Linked DNA regions of Homo sapiens: regions 1, 3 and 4 are each linked to region 2. The links are contacts of gene promoters, found by promoter capture Hi-C in blood cells and fetal thymus (Javierre and others, 2016). All regions are on one chromosome and are shown on one strand. Each heading gives the region's core, a stretch centred on a gene start or on the middle of the fragment in contact. The rest is flanking DNA. Distances are from core to core; before and after follow the strand shown. Region 1 has its middle 91 kb from the start of CARD11. Region 2 holds the start of CARD11 (caspase recruitment domain family member 11). Region 3 holds the start of LOC100129603 (a long non-coding RNA gene). Region 4 overlaps CARD11 (caspase recruitment domain family member 11).

What was found. Contacts are between HindIII fragments. The CHiCAGO score rates a contact against its expected background, and 5 or more counts as called.
Region 1: a fragment that was not itself captured here is called in contact with the fragment with the promoter of CARD11 in region 2 in 1 of 17 cell types (total CD8 T cells); the score reaches 5.1 in total CD8 T cells.
Region 3: a contact is called between a fragment that was not itself captured here and the fragment with the promoter of CARD11 in region 2, in 2 of 17 cell types (total CD8 T cells and non-activated CD4 T cells). The highest score is 6.1, in total CD8 T cells.
Region 4: a contact is called between a fragment that was not itself captured here and the fragment with the promoter of CARD11 in region 2, in 4 of 17 cell types (total CD8 T cells, non-activated CD4 T cells, activated CD4 T cells and 1 more). The highest score is 7.7, in total CD8 T cells.

What each region holds. Positions count from the first base shown.
Region 1 is chr7:3,133,001-3,136,701 of GRCh38, reverse strand. No RefSeq gene overlaps it. Among named protein-coding and RNA genes, the nearest start is that of CARD11, 91 kb to the right of the region's middle. The HindIII fragment of the contact is 1,349 bases long and covers 1,361-2,709 here.
Region 2 is chr7:3,042,082-3,045,579 of GRCh38, reverse strand. It overlaps CARD11 (caspase recruitment domain family member 11), which reads left to right and starts at 1,713. Exons shown (of 25, transcript NM_032415.7): 1 at 1,713-1,913. RefSeq lists an enhancer at 1,491-1,785 and a silencer at 1,651-2,000. The HindIII fragment of the contact is 15,618 bases long and covers 1,191-3,498 here.
Region 3 is chr7:3,156,088-3,159,894 of GRCh38, reverse strand. It overlaps LOC100129603 (a long non-coding RNA gene), which reads left to right and starts at 1,322. Exons shown (of 4, transcript NR_126024.1): 1 at 1,322-1,404; 2 at 1,640-1,757. The HindIII fragment of the contact is 7,116 bases long and covers 1-3,807 here.
Region 4 is chr7:2,948,726-2,952,490 of GRCh38, reverse strand. The region is part of intron 2 of CARD11 (caspase recruitment domain family member 11); the gene reads left to right. Among named protein-coding and RNA genes, the nearest start is that of CARD11-AS1, 6.6 kb to the right of the region's middle. The HindIII fragment of the contact is 6,187 bases long and covers 1-3,765 here.

The sequences.
Region 1 (3,701 bases), core at 786-3,285, 91 kb before region 2:
GCTCAGGTTTCTGGCTTATGCAGCTGCCCAAGGAGGTGGCAAGTGGAGCCATCTACTCTGACAGGAAAACACTGGAGGAGGGGGAGCAGGTTACAAGAGCAAGATCCTAAACAGCTTCAACACACTCAGCTTGACAGCCCTACCAGATATCCAAATAGCCATAGCACGTACAGAGCCGGATACAGCAGGCTCGAGTTCAAGTTTGGAGATATCCATGTGGCCATGGGTTTAGCTTCTGGGGAGAGAATAAAGGCAGTTGATTAGATAAAAGAGGAGATAAGATGGAAGATGGCATTTGCATCCCCTATTAAGTGAAAGACTTTTCTACTTTTGTGATTTGATGAGATAGATCAAAAATGACCAGTTTAGTGTCCGGGTGCAGTGGCTCACGCCTGTAATCCCAGCACTTTGGGAGGCTGAGGTGGGTGGATCACAAGGTCAGGAGATCGAGAACATCTTGGCCAACATGGTGAAACCCCGTCTGTACTAAAAATACAAAAATTAGCTGGGCATGGTGGTACACGCCTGTAGTACCAGCTACTCTGGAAACTGAGACAGGAGAATCGCTTGAACCCAGGAGGCGGAGGTTGCAGTGAATTGAGATGGCTCCACTGCACTCCAGCCTGGGCAACAAGAGCGAAACTCTCAAAAAAAAAAAAAAAAAAAAAAAAGTTACCAGTTTTGCATAAGCTACTCAGGGTTGGGTTGAGTGTCTGTCACTTGCATCCAAAAAGTTCTGACAAATATACAAGGCAACCCGTGGAGAGTTTGCTCCCTCTGAGAACGATAAAGCAGCTCTTTCTCCCCCTTGGAAAGTAGATGAGAAAGTAATTTGTATGCAAATGGAGATGGATGTGACCTCCTGCTTTATCAATAGCAACTTGTCCCCTTTTCAGAAAACAGAAACTTACGTTCCACTTTGTACAAACGGTACAGTTCAGAATGGCAGCTGGAGGCAAATCTTTCTCTCTCTTTCTCCCCCAATTGCTAAGCAAGATCTCCCTTGCTGTGTAAATGCTTTCCTACCCTTTGACACAATTGCTTCAGGTCTTTTCTCCTGGGTGAAACGTTCCGCAGAAGGGGCCGGGCAGGGAACTTTAATTAGAAAGCAGATCACCCACCCACATGAGATCAAAATTCAGAGTGTACCCGTCCCTCCTGGCTGGCATTCTAGAAAAAGCAACTGAAGGAAGTAGAATGTGGGTGGTCTGACATGTCCACATCAAGTGCCTGGTCAGCATGTCGGTCCTGGGAGGGCAGGACCCTGGGGGTCCTTTCTTAGAAGAACACAAATTATCAAAGACCTGATGTGTTGGGATAGAAAGAAGGATGCCGGCTAAGATGACATCGAGTGTAAGCTTGAAGGCTATAACAAACCTTCCAGTAACAATAATGTGTTTATGCCGTATTTATCACCTACGAAGTGTTTTCACATACAATGCTCACCAACCTCTTCTTAGAGCAATGCCCCATCCTCATGGGATCTAACTTCTGAAAGAGCCTCCAGGTCCAGAAATCCTTGTTCCTTCAGACCCATCTTTGTCATTTTTAGAGCTTAACAAATTCTGAGAGAAGGTGGCAATGTCTTTTGTATTGTCAAACGCTGCATAACAAATCACTCCAACACACAGTGGCTTAGAACAATAGTCGTTTATTACCTTGTGGTTCCCGGGGGTCAGGAATTCAGGAGCAGTTTAACTGGGTGGTTCTGGCTGGATTTGTATCATGGGTTTGCAGTCAGATGTTGGCTGGGGCTACAGTCAGAAGACTTGAGGATTCTCTTCCAAAGTGACTCAGTCACAGAGGCTTCACTTGGTGGAACTTCCCATGGAGCTCCTTGAGTGATGTCACAACATGGCGGCTGGTTTCTCTCAGAGTGAATCATGAGGTAGAAACCACAACGCCTCCTATCACCTAGTCTCAGAAACCATACGCCATCATTTCTGCCATATTCTGTTCCCTAGAAGCAATTCACTGAGTCTAGTTCACACTCAGAAGGAGGAGAATTAGGCTCCATTTTGGAAGGAAGGAGTATCAAATTACTAGTGGAGATATATATAGATATATAGATATGTTTTTTTTGGAGACGCCCAGGCTGGAGTGCAGTGGCACAATATCGGCTCACTACAACTTCCGCCTCCCGGATTCAAGGGGTTCTCCTGCGTCAGCCACCCGAGTAGCTGGGATTACAGGCATGCGCTGCCAGGCCCAGATAATTTTTTGTATTTTAGTAGAGACAGGGTTTCACTGTGTTGTCCAGGCTGGTCTCGAACTCTTGAGCTCAGGCAGTCCACCCACCTCGGCCTCCCAAAGTGCTAGGATTACAGGCGTTAGCCACAGTGCCCGGCCTAGTGGATATATTTTAAAACCAAATCTCTTGAAGCTAAAAAGCTGAGAGAATGGGCATCAAGTCAGTGCAATAATTCATTGAGTAGGGACTAGGGAATCCACCTTCATCACATAAATTTTCACTTTGCAGCGAGCATTTTTTATTTTTTAGGGTCCTGGCAGGAAACAGATGGCACGTTCAGATAGTGAATTAGTAGACACAAAAAAAGCAATCGACAAAATCCAACACCCATTCATGACAAAAACCATCCACAAACTAGGAATAAGAGGGAACTTCCTCAACTTGATGAAGTGCACCACAGAAAACCCACAGCTAACGTTATACTTAATGGTGAAAGACTGAATGCTTTTCCCAAAGCTTGGAAATGAAGCAAAGACATTCATTCTCACCACTTCCATTCGGGAATTTACTGAAGATTCGAGCCAGTAAAATAAAGCTAAAAATATATAAAATAAAGACATCCAGATTGGAAAGAAAGAAGTAAAACTTTTTTAGTCACAGATGGCATCATCCTATATGTAGAAAATCTTAAGGAATCCACCAAAAAAAAAAATCCTCCTACAACTAGTAAATTTAGCAACTTTGCAGGATACAAGATCAATATATAGAAATTAATGGAATTTTCTATACTAGTCATGAACAATTTGAGAATGAATTTTTTAAAGTTCATTCACAATAGCATCAAAAATAAACAGTTTGGAATAAATTTAACAAGAAAAATGAAAAATTGGTACACTGAGCATTATAAAGGATTGCTTAGAGAAATGAGAGAAAATATAAATGGAGAGATATTCCATGTTAATGGATTGGAAGATTAAATATTATTAAGATGTCAATCCATAGATCAAATTGATCTATAGATGCAATGTAATCCCTGTTAAAGTCCCAGCAGGATTTTTTGAAGAAAGTGACAAGCTGGTTCTAAAATGAATGCAGAAATGCAAAAGACATACAATTGCTGAAACAATTTGGGGAAAGAAAAACAAAGCTGGAGGACTTATCCTACCCAATTTCAAAGCTTACTCTAAAGCTACAGTAATCAAGACCGTGTGGCATTGGAGTAAGGATAGGCATATATTGATAATGGTACAGAAGTGAAAGCCAAGAAATAAGCGCTTATGTATATGGCCAACGGATTTTTGACAATGATGTCAAAACAATTGATAATGATGTCAAGACAATGGAATGGGGTGGGATACTCTTTTCAAACATGGCATTGTAACAGTTGGATATCATATACTAAACACACACACACAAAAGAATGTTAGGCCCTTAACTCACACCAAAAATAAAAATTATCTCAAAATGTATCACAGACCTAAATGTAAGAGCTACAATTAAAAAATTTCTA
Region 2 (3,498 bases), core at 464-2,963:
CAGCTCGAGGAACTTTTCTCAGAACACTTAAAACATGAAACAGAAGCCTACATTCTCTAGCCATAATGAGGGGATCAAAAGAGAGGGAGATAGATGAGAGGAGAATGGTAAACTGAGGCAGAGTAGAATGAGAGGTGCAGAGGCTGGGGCAACGGGGGGGCGGGCGGTGCAGGAGGCAGTGCAATTGCAGCAAGAGAATAGAAACTAAGGTTTTCTGGGTAGGCATGGCTCATCCAGATTTTTATTTCAATAGCTTTAGGGGTACTTGCGGTTTTGGGTTACGTGGATGAAGCGTATAGTGGTGAAGTCTGGGCTTTTAGTGCATCAGTCACTGGAATAGTGCACATTGTACAGTATACATTGTACCCAATAGGTGATTTTTCATCCCCTACCCCCTCCCATTCTTCCCCCTTCTGAGTCTCCAACGTCCATGATCCCACTCTGCCTGCCTTTGCCTACCCATAGCTTAGCTCTCGCTTTTAAATAAGAACATGTAGTATTTGGTTTTCCACTCCTGAGTTACTTCACTTAGGATAATGGCCTCCAGTTCCATCCAAGTTGCTGCAAAATACTTTATTTCGTTCTTTTTTATGGCTGAGTAGTATTGCATGGCGTGTGTGTGTGTATCACATTTTCTTTCATCCAGATTTTTGAGTCTGCAATCCATGTAAACCCTTGGGACCATCCCACCCATGACGATGGCCATTTGGGGTAAATTATTAAAATGATGACATCCAGCTGGGCGCAGAGGCTCATGCCTGTAATCCCAGCACTTTGGGAGGCTGAGGTGGGCATATCACTTGAGGTCAGGAGTTCGAGGCCAGCCTGGCCATCATGTTGAAACCCCATTTCTACTAAAAATACAAAAATTAGCCAAGTTTGGTGGTGCACGCCTGTGGTCCCAGCTACTCGGGAGGCTGAGGTGGGAGAATCGCTTGAACCCAGGAGGTGGAGCTTGCAGTGAGCTGAGATTGTGCCACTGCACTCCAGCCTGGGTGACAGAGCGAGACTCCATCTCAAAAAATAAAAATAAAGTAAAATGATGACATCCAAATCACAGTTTCTCTTACAAGTATACTTCACCGGAACATCGAGGGCACAAGCTGATGGTGGGTGTCTTGGACCCCAAAGCTGTCGGGGTGAGGAAGGCCTTTGAAGGGGTGCTGACCACCCGGCATGCCCAGGAAGCTTCCAGAACAGGGGCTGAGGGAGGAAAGAGGCTTGGGGTGTAGGAGGCTGCAGGATTTGATGTGGGGCACCCCGTTCCCCTCCCATTGCAGTGACAGGCTCTGGAATTTCTTCAGAAATTCAGCTAGATCTCGGGAGCCAGTGCCCTGGAGAACCTAGAAGGGAGAGAGCCCCTCCCAAGGCCCCACCTGGACTCTGCCGGGGGTCACGGCTGGGTGGGGACTGATGCCCAGACTGGTCCAGCCTCACCCCGACTGATGCAGGTGGGCTGGGCCCTGAGACTCGCCTTGGTCTCCCCATCTCCGGCTCCCTGATCTGTCCCCAAGCACCCCCACCCCCGGCCCTGTCCCCACTCCCACCCCCACCTCCTTGCCGCCCTCCTCCCGAAGCACCGACTCCGCCCCCTCCCTCTCTTCCTTATCTTTTTCTAACCTTTCGCATTTTTTAGTCTCATTTCCTGTCGGGTTTTGCATTTCCCTCCCCCGCCCCTCCCAGCCTATGACATACTTTCTCTCCTTTTTTCTCTCCTGCCTCCTCTGGCCTTCGGACTCCTGCCCGCGCCGCCCGCAGCCCCCTCCCGGCCCTGCAGCCCCTGGGCGGGCGGCGCCCCTCGGAGGACGGCTCCGGGCCCGGGGGGACGGAGGGCCTGGTCGCCTGGAGGAAGCCGGAGGCCTGCGTGGAGGAGGCGCCCCGCGCAGCTGGCTGGCGGAGCATGAGCGCCCCAGGTAGGCGCAGCGGGGATGGGGGAGCTGGCGGAGGGGGAGCACGAGGCGGGGAGTTGGGGGAAGAGAAGAGGGCACGGGGAGGAGATGGGGGGCATCAGTGAGATGACACGGTGGCGGGGGGGGCGTCGGGGGATGGGAGTGGCTCCCGCTGGTCCCGCGATGCTGGGGGTATCCTTCCCTCTCCATCTCTGTCCCCCTGCCCCCCTTCTCTCTCTCACTCTCCTCTCCCCTTTTTCCCTTCCAACCCTTTTTCTCCCTCACTTTCCACCTCGTGTGCCTCTCCTCCGTGTCTCTTTGAGCGTCTCTGAGTATCACCGCCCAGCAAAGCCCCCACCTCCTCCTACTGGACAGGAAAAAATCGGGGGTCAGGAGGCTGCAGCCCCTTGGTGCACCTGCCCCAGAGGGAGGAAGAGAAACTTTTCTGACACCTGAAAGGCCCGGAAGTTTGCAGACCACAGCCCAGCCTGACTCAGAGGCTCCTGGGAAGGTGGGGCCTGGCTCAGGGAGGAAGGGCAGCCGCACCAAAAGTGGGTGTGGAGCTGGGAGATGGGAGAGGACAGCCCCCCGCGGGGACTGTACTAGAAAGGGGGTGGCGGGGGCACAGGAGAGGGCCCAGGTTCCCGACTGAAACCCGGAGCAGGTCCTAGCGGCCTCAGGCCTGAAAGCCACCTCCCCCAGGAGGCCCCTCCAGGCCCGATGGGGCCACCAGGCCTTCTGCTGAGCCCCCTCTGCAGATAGGGGCAGAGAGGGTGTTTCTGTCCCTCGGGGGCTCTGAGCACCGCTGGAGGCTGTCACGGGGACCCAGGTTCATGGACAGTGGTCTCAGCTGTGAGCTTCGGGGCTGCCCACACAAACTTGGTCTTGGACCAAACTGACCTCTCTCTGCCTGGCCTGCTCTCAAAGCCTTTGATTTGTAGTTCAAAACATTTTCTCCTAATATTTATGACTCGTCTTGAAGGTATAAGGTTACCAACCTACCAGAAAGGGGAGAAAAATAGTCGATCGTTCATTCCACATTTATTGAGCGCTCAGCCTGTGCATAATGCGTGCCGGAAATCCCGGGAGCCGGGAATTGATATGAGGACAGGAATTTCTCCGTAAGTGTCCACTTCTGCGCTTTCGCGGAAACTCCGGTTCTCTCCCCAGCAAGGCATCTGTAAAGAGATGACACCCCTGCCTCAGGCCAGGGCTGCCCTGAGGAGCGCAACAGTGACCAGGACTCAGCGTAATTCAAGGCCAGGGAATGCTTGGACCCGTGTGGATGTTACTTGCCTGGGTATCAGATAGGCAGGCCGTGGCTCCACTGGCCCCAGCAGTCTTCTGTTAATGCATGAATGGTCCTTGATGTGATTTTTTTAAAAATCGTGGTGAAATACATGTGACATAAAATGAGCTCGCTGAACCACTTTGAAGCGCAGAGTTGAGTGCTGTTAAGCCCGTCCATGTTATCTTGCGGCCATCACCACCATCCAGCTCTTCCCAAACTGAAACTGTGTCCCCCGTTAAACAGCAGCTTCCTGGCCCCCTCCGTAGCCCCTGGCAGCCACCCTTCCCCGTTCTGTCTCTAGGAATCTGATGACTTTCG
Region 3 (3,807 bases), core at 1,183-3,682, 110 kb before region 2:
ACAAATTTAAAATATAAAATGTTTTAACAAGAAAAGAAGGGAAGCAGCAAATTGCAACAGCCCAGCAGTTGTTTAAGGAAAGTTCCAGAAAGTGGTGGTGGTAGGGGGGTATGGGGACAGGGTGGGTGGGGAAGCCAGTCCTTTCCTGCCTAAGCTGGGAAGCCCTGTGTCTATCCACCGCTTCTCCCCCCGCTGGCTACCGGATACCTGCTCACAGGTGTTTATAAGCTCAGTGGCTCTCCTGTCCCAGCTGTCACAGTCCCATTGGCTGGGCAGCCAGAGGCAACAGGTTTGGGTTCTGAGCCAGGAAGTTAAGAAGCCAGGCAGCACAACCCTACCACCCAGATGTCAGAGGCATTTGAACCAGAGCAACTCTATCTTGAAGAGGAGCTGGGTAAAATGAGGCTGAGACCTACTAGGTGCATTCCCAGATGGTTAAGGCATTCCAAGTCACAGGATGAGATAGGAGGTCAGCACTAGATACAGGTCCTAAACACCTTGCTGATAAAACAGGTTGCAGTGAAGAATCTGGCAAAACCCCACAAAAACCAAGATGGACACCAGAGTGACCTCTGGTCATCCTCACGGCTACGCTCCCACCAGCATCATGACAGTTTACAAATGCCATGGCAACGTCAGGAAGTTCCCTATATGGTCTAAAAGGGAGAGGCATGAATAATCCACCCCTCCTTTAGCATATCATCAAGAAATAACCACAAAAATGGGCAACCAGCAGCCCTTGGGGCTGCTGTGTCTGTGGAGTAGCCCTTCTTTTATTCCTTTCCTTTCCTAATAAACTTGATTTCTCTTTACTCTATGGACTCGCCCTGAATTCTTTCTTGCATAAGATCCAAGAACCCTCTCTTGGGGTCCAGATCGGGTCCTGTAACACAGGCTCACCTGCTCCTGTTTAAGGGATACCCACTAGGGTATCCAGCTCCAAATCTGGGCTGGACCCTTCCCCTCTGTGATCCTGGCTTCCTATTCCCAAGGGAAGAACCGTCCAGAAAGGCCCTGACCCAGAGCCCCCTAAACCCTTGAAGGAGGCTCCCTGATCCCTCCAACATCATGCTGTAGTTTTCGCCGTACAAACGACCCCATCGACTTCCTTTTTCTCCAGGGAGAGATCAGGGACCTCTCCATGATGAGTTAAACATCAAATCCTCTATAAAAGCTGCTCTGGATTCTGCCTAGGTTCTCAGCATCTGGCAAAAACATTTGCGGACCAAGGTCTGTGAGCACATCTCGCTGGTTTTTGTTTTTTTTTTTTTTTTTTTTTTTTTTGAGAGCTCTCGTGATTTCTAAATTACATCACGGGGCAGAGCGGAATGGAGGGATTTAAAACGCCCATCCTTTTAAAAAACATGAACCGTTTCAAGTACAGAGTTTGACAGAGGGTAGACGGTACGAACTTGCTCCCACAGGCCTAGTTACTTGCCTCGTGCAAGGCCCCTCTCTCCCCTTCCCACTTGGAATCATCCTTGGAATCATCTTTGTCTAGGAAGAGGATTTCACTCCGGGTCTTTGAGAACACCTCTCAGGCCTGACCCTGGCCTTGGGAAGAAGACTCCCAGCCTGAGGGTCTTGTTGAGAGTTTTAATGTCCCCTTTAGGGACATCTTTGCTTTTCTTTCTTTCAGAAGAGGAATCAATTCTGGACCAGAGGATGTCTCCCTGCCTTTGCCCTGCCTGCCTCCCCCCACATCCTTCTCTGGCAAGGGGAATGAGGCTGAGAATGACCTCCATCCGCAGGACGAGGTAGGCACTGATTTAATGAAGGACTTCACTCTCAGTCGGGCTCAGCCGCAGGGATGGCAGATGGGGCCAGGCAGGAGGCTGTGGTGGGGTCTGTGCTGGGGAGATGGGAGCAGGAGCATCTGCAGAGTGGAGGCAGGAGGGTCGGAGAGCTCGGGGCCCAGACAGTCCCCAAGCGACTCTTGGGAGGCTGGCTTTGATGCCGTCCCAGAATATGGTTCAGAGTCAAAGCAAAGGGATGAATTTGTTAGCTGGAACACGGCCCTGAATTCTCCCCAGGAAATTCACTGAAACAGAGATTTAACCCGCGAGAGTTCCAGCCGAGCGATGAATCACCCGACTTCCCTCCTGTCTTTCATAGCCCACGTTTCACTTTCCTACCTTGGATTAGATAAATTAATGCAGAACATCCGGAAACTCCCGGGGCGCTTTGAAGTTTTCAAAGGGCCTCTGCCTACATTGTCTCCTGTGATCCCCCTGGTGGCCCCCACAGGTGAATGGACGAGGAGGTTGGGGTGTGGTCCTCGTACACATGGAGACACAGCAGAACACTAAAGGTGAATGGCTTTCCCCAGGTCCCAGCCTGAGGATCAGAGCCCAGGTCACCTGCCTCATTGCTTAGTGGTTCTGGAGTTCAGGCAACTTCATACCGTGGCGCAGGGAGAAGCATGAACCCAAAGGTTGGAGCCACGTCTTAGACAAATCAGTTCTTCTCCCTGGGCTGCATCTCCTCTTCCTCTTTTTGTTTTTTTTGAGACAGGGTGTCACTGTGTTGCCCAGGCTCACTGGGCAGTGGCACAGACTTGGCTCACTGCAACCTCCGTCTCTCAGGCTCAAGTGATCCTCCCATCTCACCCTCCAGAGTAGCTAGGACTACAGGTGCATGCTACCACGCATGGCTAATTTTTGTACTTTTTGTAGAGACAGGGTCTCACTGTGTTGCCCAGGCTCCTCTGGAACTCCTGGGCTCAATCAGTCCTCCCACCTCAGCTTCCTGAGTAGCTGGGACTACAGGCTCACACCACTACACTTCTCCAATTTTTAAATTTTTTTTATAGAGTCGGTGTCTCGCTGTGTTGCCCAAGCTGGTCTAAAACTCCTGTCCTCAAGCAATCCTGCTGCCTCAGCCTCTCAAAGTGCTGAGATTACAAGCGTGAGCCACCGCACCCAGCCTCTCCTCCTTTTTAGTTGCTGGGCTGGGCTCTCTAGAACTGTGCTGTCTAACGTGGTAGCAACTAACTCCATGTGACTTTTTAAAGTTAAACTAATTTAAGCTAAATAAAAATTAAAAACTAGTTCCTCAGTCCGACTAGCCCCATCCAAAGTGCTCAGTAACTGCGTGTGACTAATGGCTCCTATACTGGATGGCACAGAAATAACATTTCCGTCATCACAGAAAGTTCTTCTGTCCAGCAACAGGACAGGGCTGGTCAAACTGCCACCTCAGGGCAAATGCGGTCTGCTGCCTGTTTTTGTAAATAAAGTTTTGTCGGAACAGGGACACACCCATTTCTTCATATATTGTCTTTGGCCCCTGTCGTGCAACCAGCATGAGTAGTTGTGACCGAGATGATATGGCCCAAAAGACCTAAAATATTCACGGTCCAGTCCTTTACAGAAAGCATGCCGACTTCTGCCCTGGAAGATGGAAAATCTGCGGATTTCCACCCAGACCGCTCAGTGTCATTCAGAGGCCCAGAATCATCCCACACTGCAGACATCCCGCCTCTCCTTGTCCCAGTTATTGGGATTCATGGAACACATCTGCCTGTGTGTGTGTTTCTAGAAAGGAAATGTAGTGCTTTATTTTTTTAATTTTTGAGACAGGGTCTCACTTTTTCCCCTGGCTGGAGTGCAGTGGTATGATCAGGGCTCACTGCAGCCTCGACCTCCTAGACTTCCATAGTCAAATGATCTTCTTGCCTCAGCCCCACCAGTAGCTGAGACTACAGGCACGAGCCGTCACACCTGGTTAATTTTTTTTAAATTATTTTTAGTACAGGCAGGGTCTCACTGTGTTGCCCAGGCTGGTCTGGAACTCCTGGGCTCAGGT
Region 4 (3,765 bases), core at 339-2,838, 93 kb after region 2:
TGACCTGCCTGCATGTCTCCTCACCCTGGCTGAGCTCCAACCTCCATGGCTACACCAATGCCACCTTCTAGCTCAATTGCCCCCAGCACACTCACCCATCCCACCACTGTGAAATCCCCAGGTCCAGGAATTTGGCTGTGGCTAAAGAAGAACATCTCATAATGATAAAATGGTCAATCCACTGAGAAGCTATAAGAGTTATAAGCATATGCACCTATCAGAGCCCCAGATACATGAAGCAAAGATGGACAGAGCTGGAGGGAGAGATACACAATTCAACAATAAGAGTTGAAGACGTTGGCCAGGCGCAGTGGCTCATGCCTGTAGTCCCAGCACTTTGGGAGGCCGAGGCAGGCAGATCACCTGAGGTCAGGAGTTCGAGACCAGCCTGGCCAACATGGAGAAACCCCGTCTCTACTAAAAATACAAAATTAGCCAAGCATGGTGACAGGTGCCTGTAATCCCAGCTACTCAGGAGGCTGAGGCAGGAGAATCACTTGAACCCGGCAGGCAGAGGTTGCGGTGAACTGAGATCACGCCATTGCACTCCAGCCTGGGCAACAGAGTGAGATTCTGTCTCAAAAAAAAGAGTTGAAGACGTTATTACTTTACTTTGAATAATGGATAGAACAACTAGGCAGAAGATCAACAAATAAGAAACTTGTACAACACTATAAACAAACCAGACCTGGCTGGGCGTGGTGGCTTACACCTGTAATCCCAGCATTTTGGGAGGCCAAAGCAGGTGGATCACTTGAGGTCAGGAATTCGAGACCAGCCTGGCCAACATGGCAAAACCCTGTCTCTACTAAAAATACAAAAATTAGCCAGACATGCTGGCTGGAACCCAGGAAGCAGAAGTTGGAGTAAGCCAAGATTGCACCACTGCACTCCAGCCTTGGTGACAGAGGGAGGCTCTTTATCAAAAAAAAAAAAAAAAAAAAAAAAAAAAAAAAAACTAGACCTAACAGACATCTGTAGTCCACTCCATCTGACAGCAGCAGAATAATACATTAATCTATGAACTAAGTTCCTCCCAAAGTTAGTTTGGCCTCTGCCCAGGAATGAACGAGGACTGCTTGGAGGTTAGAAGCAAGATGGAATTGGTTAGGTCAGATCTCTTTCACTGTCAGAATTTTCTGTTATAACTTTTGCAAAGGCAGTTTTACCTCCTCCCTTGCAAAAGTAGAAAAAGAAGAGCTAACTAAACCTAAAGCAAGGAAAAGAAAGGAAATAATCAGGACTAGGGCAGAAGCAAATGAACCTGAGAATAGAAAAGGAATACAGAGAATTAATGAAACCAAAAGTTGGTTCTTTGATATATCGACAAAATAAGAGAGAAGATGCAAATTACTAGAATCAGAAATGAAAGGGGGGAAATTATAACTGAACTTATAGAGATAAAAAGAATTATGAAGGGAACTGTGAGCAATTGCTGCCAATAAATTAGATAACTTAGATATAATGGACAAATTCCTAGAAAGACACAAACTACTGAAACTGGCTCAAGACAAACAGAAAATATGAACAGACCTGTAATAAGTAAGGAGGCTGAATTTGTAAAAATAATCCACAAAGAAAAACCCATGCCCAGATGTCTTTACTTGTAAGTTCTACCAAACAAAAGAAAAATTAATATCAATTCTTAAAAGCCTCTTCCAAAAAGCAGAAGAGGAAGAAACACTTCCTAAATCATTCTGAGGCCAATATCAAAACCAGACAATGACATCACAGGAAAAGAAAACTACAGACCAATATCTCTTATGAATATGAATGCAAAAATCCTATTTTAAAAAACAAGTTAAATCCAGCAACATATAAAAAGCAACATATAAAAAGAATTATACACCCTGACTGTGTGGGATTTATGCCAGGAATACAAGGTTGGTTTAACATCTGAAAGTCAGGTAGTGTAACCCTATCAATACAATAAAAAACAAAAACCACATGGCAGCCTCAATAAATGCAGAAAAAGCATCTGACAAAATCGACAACCCTTTCAGGATAAAAACATTCAATAAACCAAGAAGGTAAGAAAACTTCCTCAACCTGATAAAGGACATCTATCTTAAAAACAAAAGCAAAAGCCTACAGCTAATGTCATACTTGACAGTGAAAGATTGGATGCTGTCCGCTAACATCAGTAACAAAGCAAGGATTCCTGCTGTTAACATTTCTATCTAACATTGTACTGGAGGTATTTTAGCCAGAGCAATTAGGCAAAGAAGAGAAATAAAAGGCACCCAGATTGGAAAAACAGAAGTAAAACTACCTTTATCTGCAAATGACATGATCTTATATATAGGCTATCATAAGATGTCTCTAACAAACTAACAGAACTAATAAATGATTTCACAAGGTTGCAGAATACAAGGTCAATATACAAAAATAAATTATATATCTATAGACCAGCAATGAATATCCCACAAATGAAATTAAGAAAAAAACTCCCATTTATAATGTCATCAAATTAATGAAATACTTAGGAATATATTTAACAAAAGAAGTGCAAGACTTGTACACTGAGAACTATGAAACATTGCTGAAAGAAATTAAAGAAGATTTAAAGAAAGACATCCCCCTGTTCATAGATCAGAAGATTTAATATTGTTAGGTAGCAGTACTCTCCAAATTGATCTACATATTCAGCAGATTCACTACCAAAATGCCAACTGCCTTTTTTGCAGAAATTGACATCCTAATCCTAAAATTAGGTAAAAGGCACCTAATAGCCAAAACAATCTTGAAAAAGAACAAGGTTGGGAGACCCATACTCCCAATTTCAAGGCCTACTACAAATCTACAAATCTTCGGTAATCAAGACAATGTAGTACTGGCATAAGGATACACATATAGATCAATGGAATAGAATCAATAGTGCAAAAACAAATGTTTACTTTTATGGTCAGTTGATTGTCAACAAGGGTAGCAAGATCATTCAATGGGGAAAGAGTAGTCTTTTCAAACAAACTGTGCTTGGACAACTGGACATCCACACATAAAAGAATGCAACTGGACCCCTACCTCACACCATACACAAAAATTAACTCAAAATGGATCATCCTCAATGTAAGAACTAAGGTATAATATTCAAAGGCAAAAAACAGGAGTAAGTCTTCATCATCTTGAGTTAGACAATGGTGTTTCGGATACATGCCAAGAGCACAAGTGAAAAAAAGAAAAAATAAATAAATTGGACTACCTCAAAATTTGAAACTTTTGTGCTACAAACAATGCTTTTAAGAAAGTGAAAAGACAACTGACAGAGTGGGAGAAAATATTTGCAAGTCATATATCTGATAAGTGGCTTGCATCCAGAATACATAACAAAATCCTACAACCCAATAATAAAAAGACAAACAACACAATTTTAAAATGGGCAAAGGATTTGAATAGACATTTCTCAATGCACACAAATGGCCAATATGCACATGAAAAGATGCTCAACATCGTTAGTCATTAGGGAAATGCAAATCAAAACCACAATGAGATGCTACTTCACACTCAGTAGGAGAGCTGTAATAAAAAAGACAGACAATAACAAGTTGTTAGCAAGAATATGGAGGAATTAAAACCCTCATGGCTTGTTGGTGGCAATGTAAAATGATGCAGCTGCTTTGGAAAACAATTTGGCAATTCCTCAAAATGTTAAATATAGAGTTGCCATATGGCCTAACAATCCACTCTTACGTATCTACCCAAGGGAAATAAAAACATACAGTCACACAAAAACTTTTACATGAATGTTCATAGCAGCATTGTTCA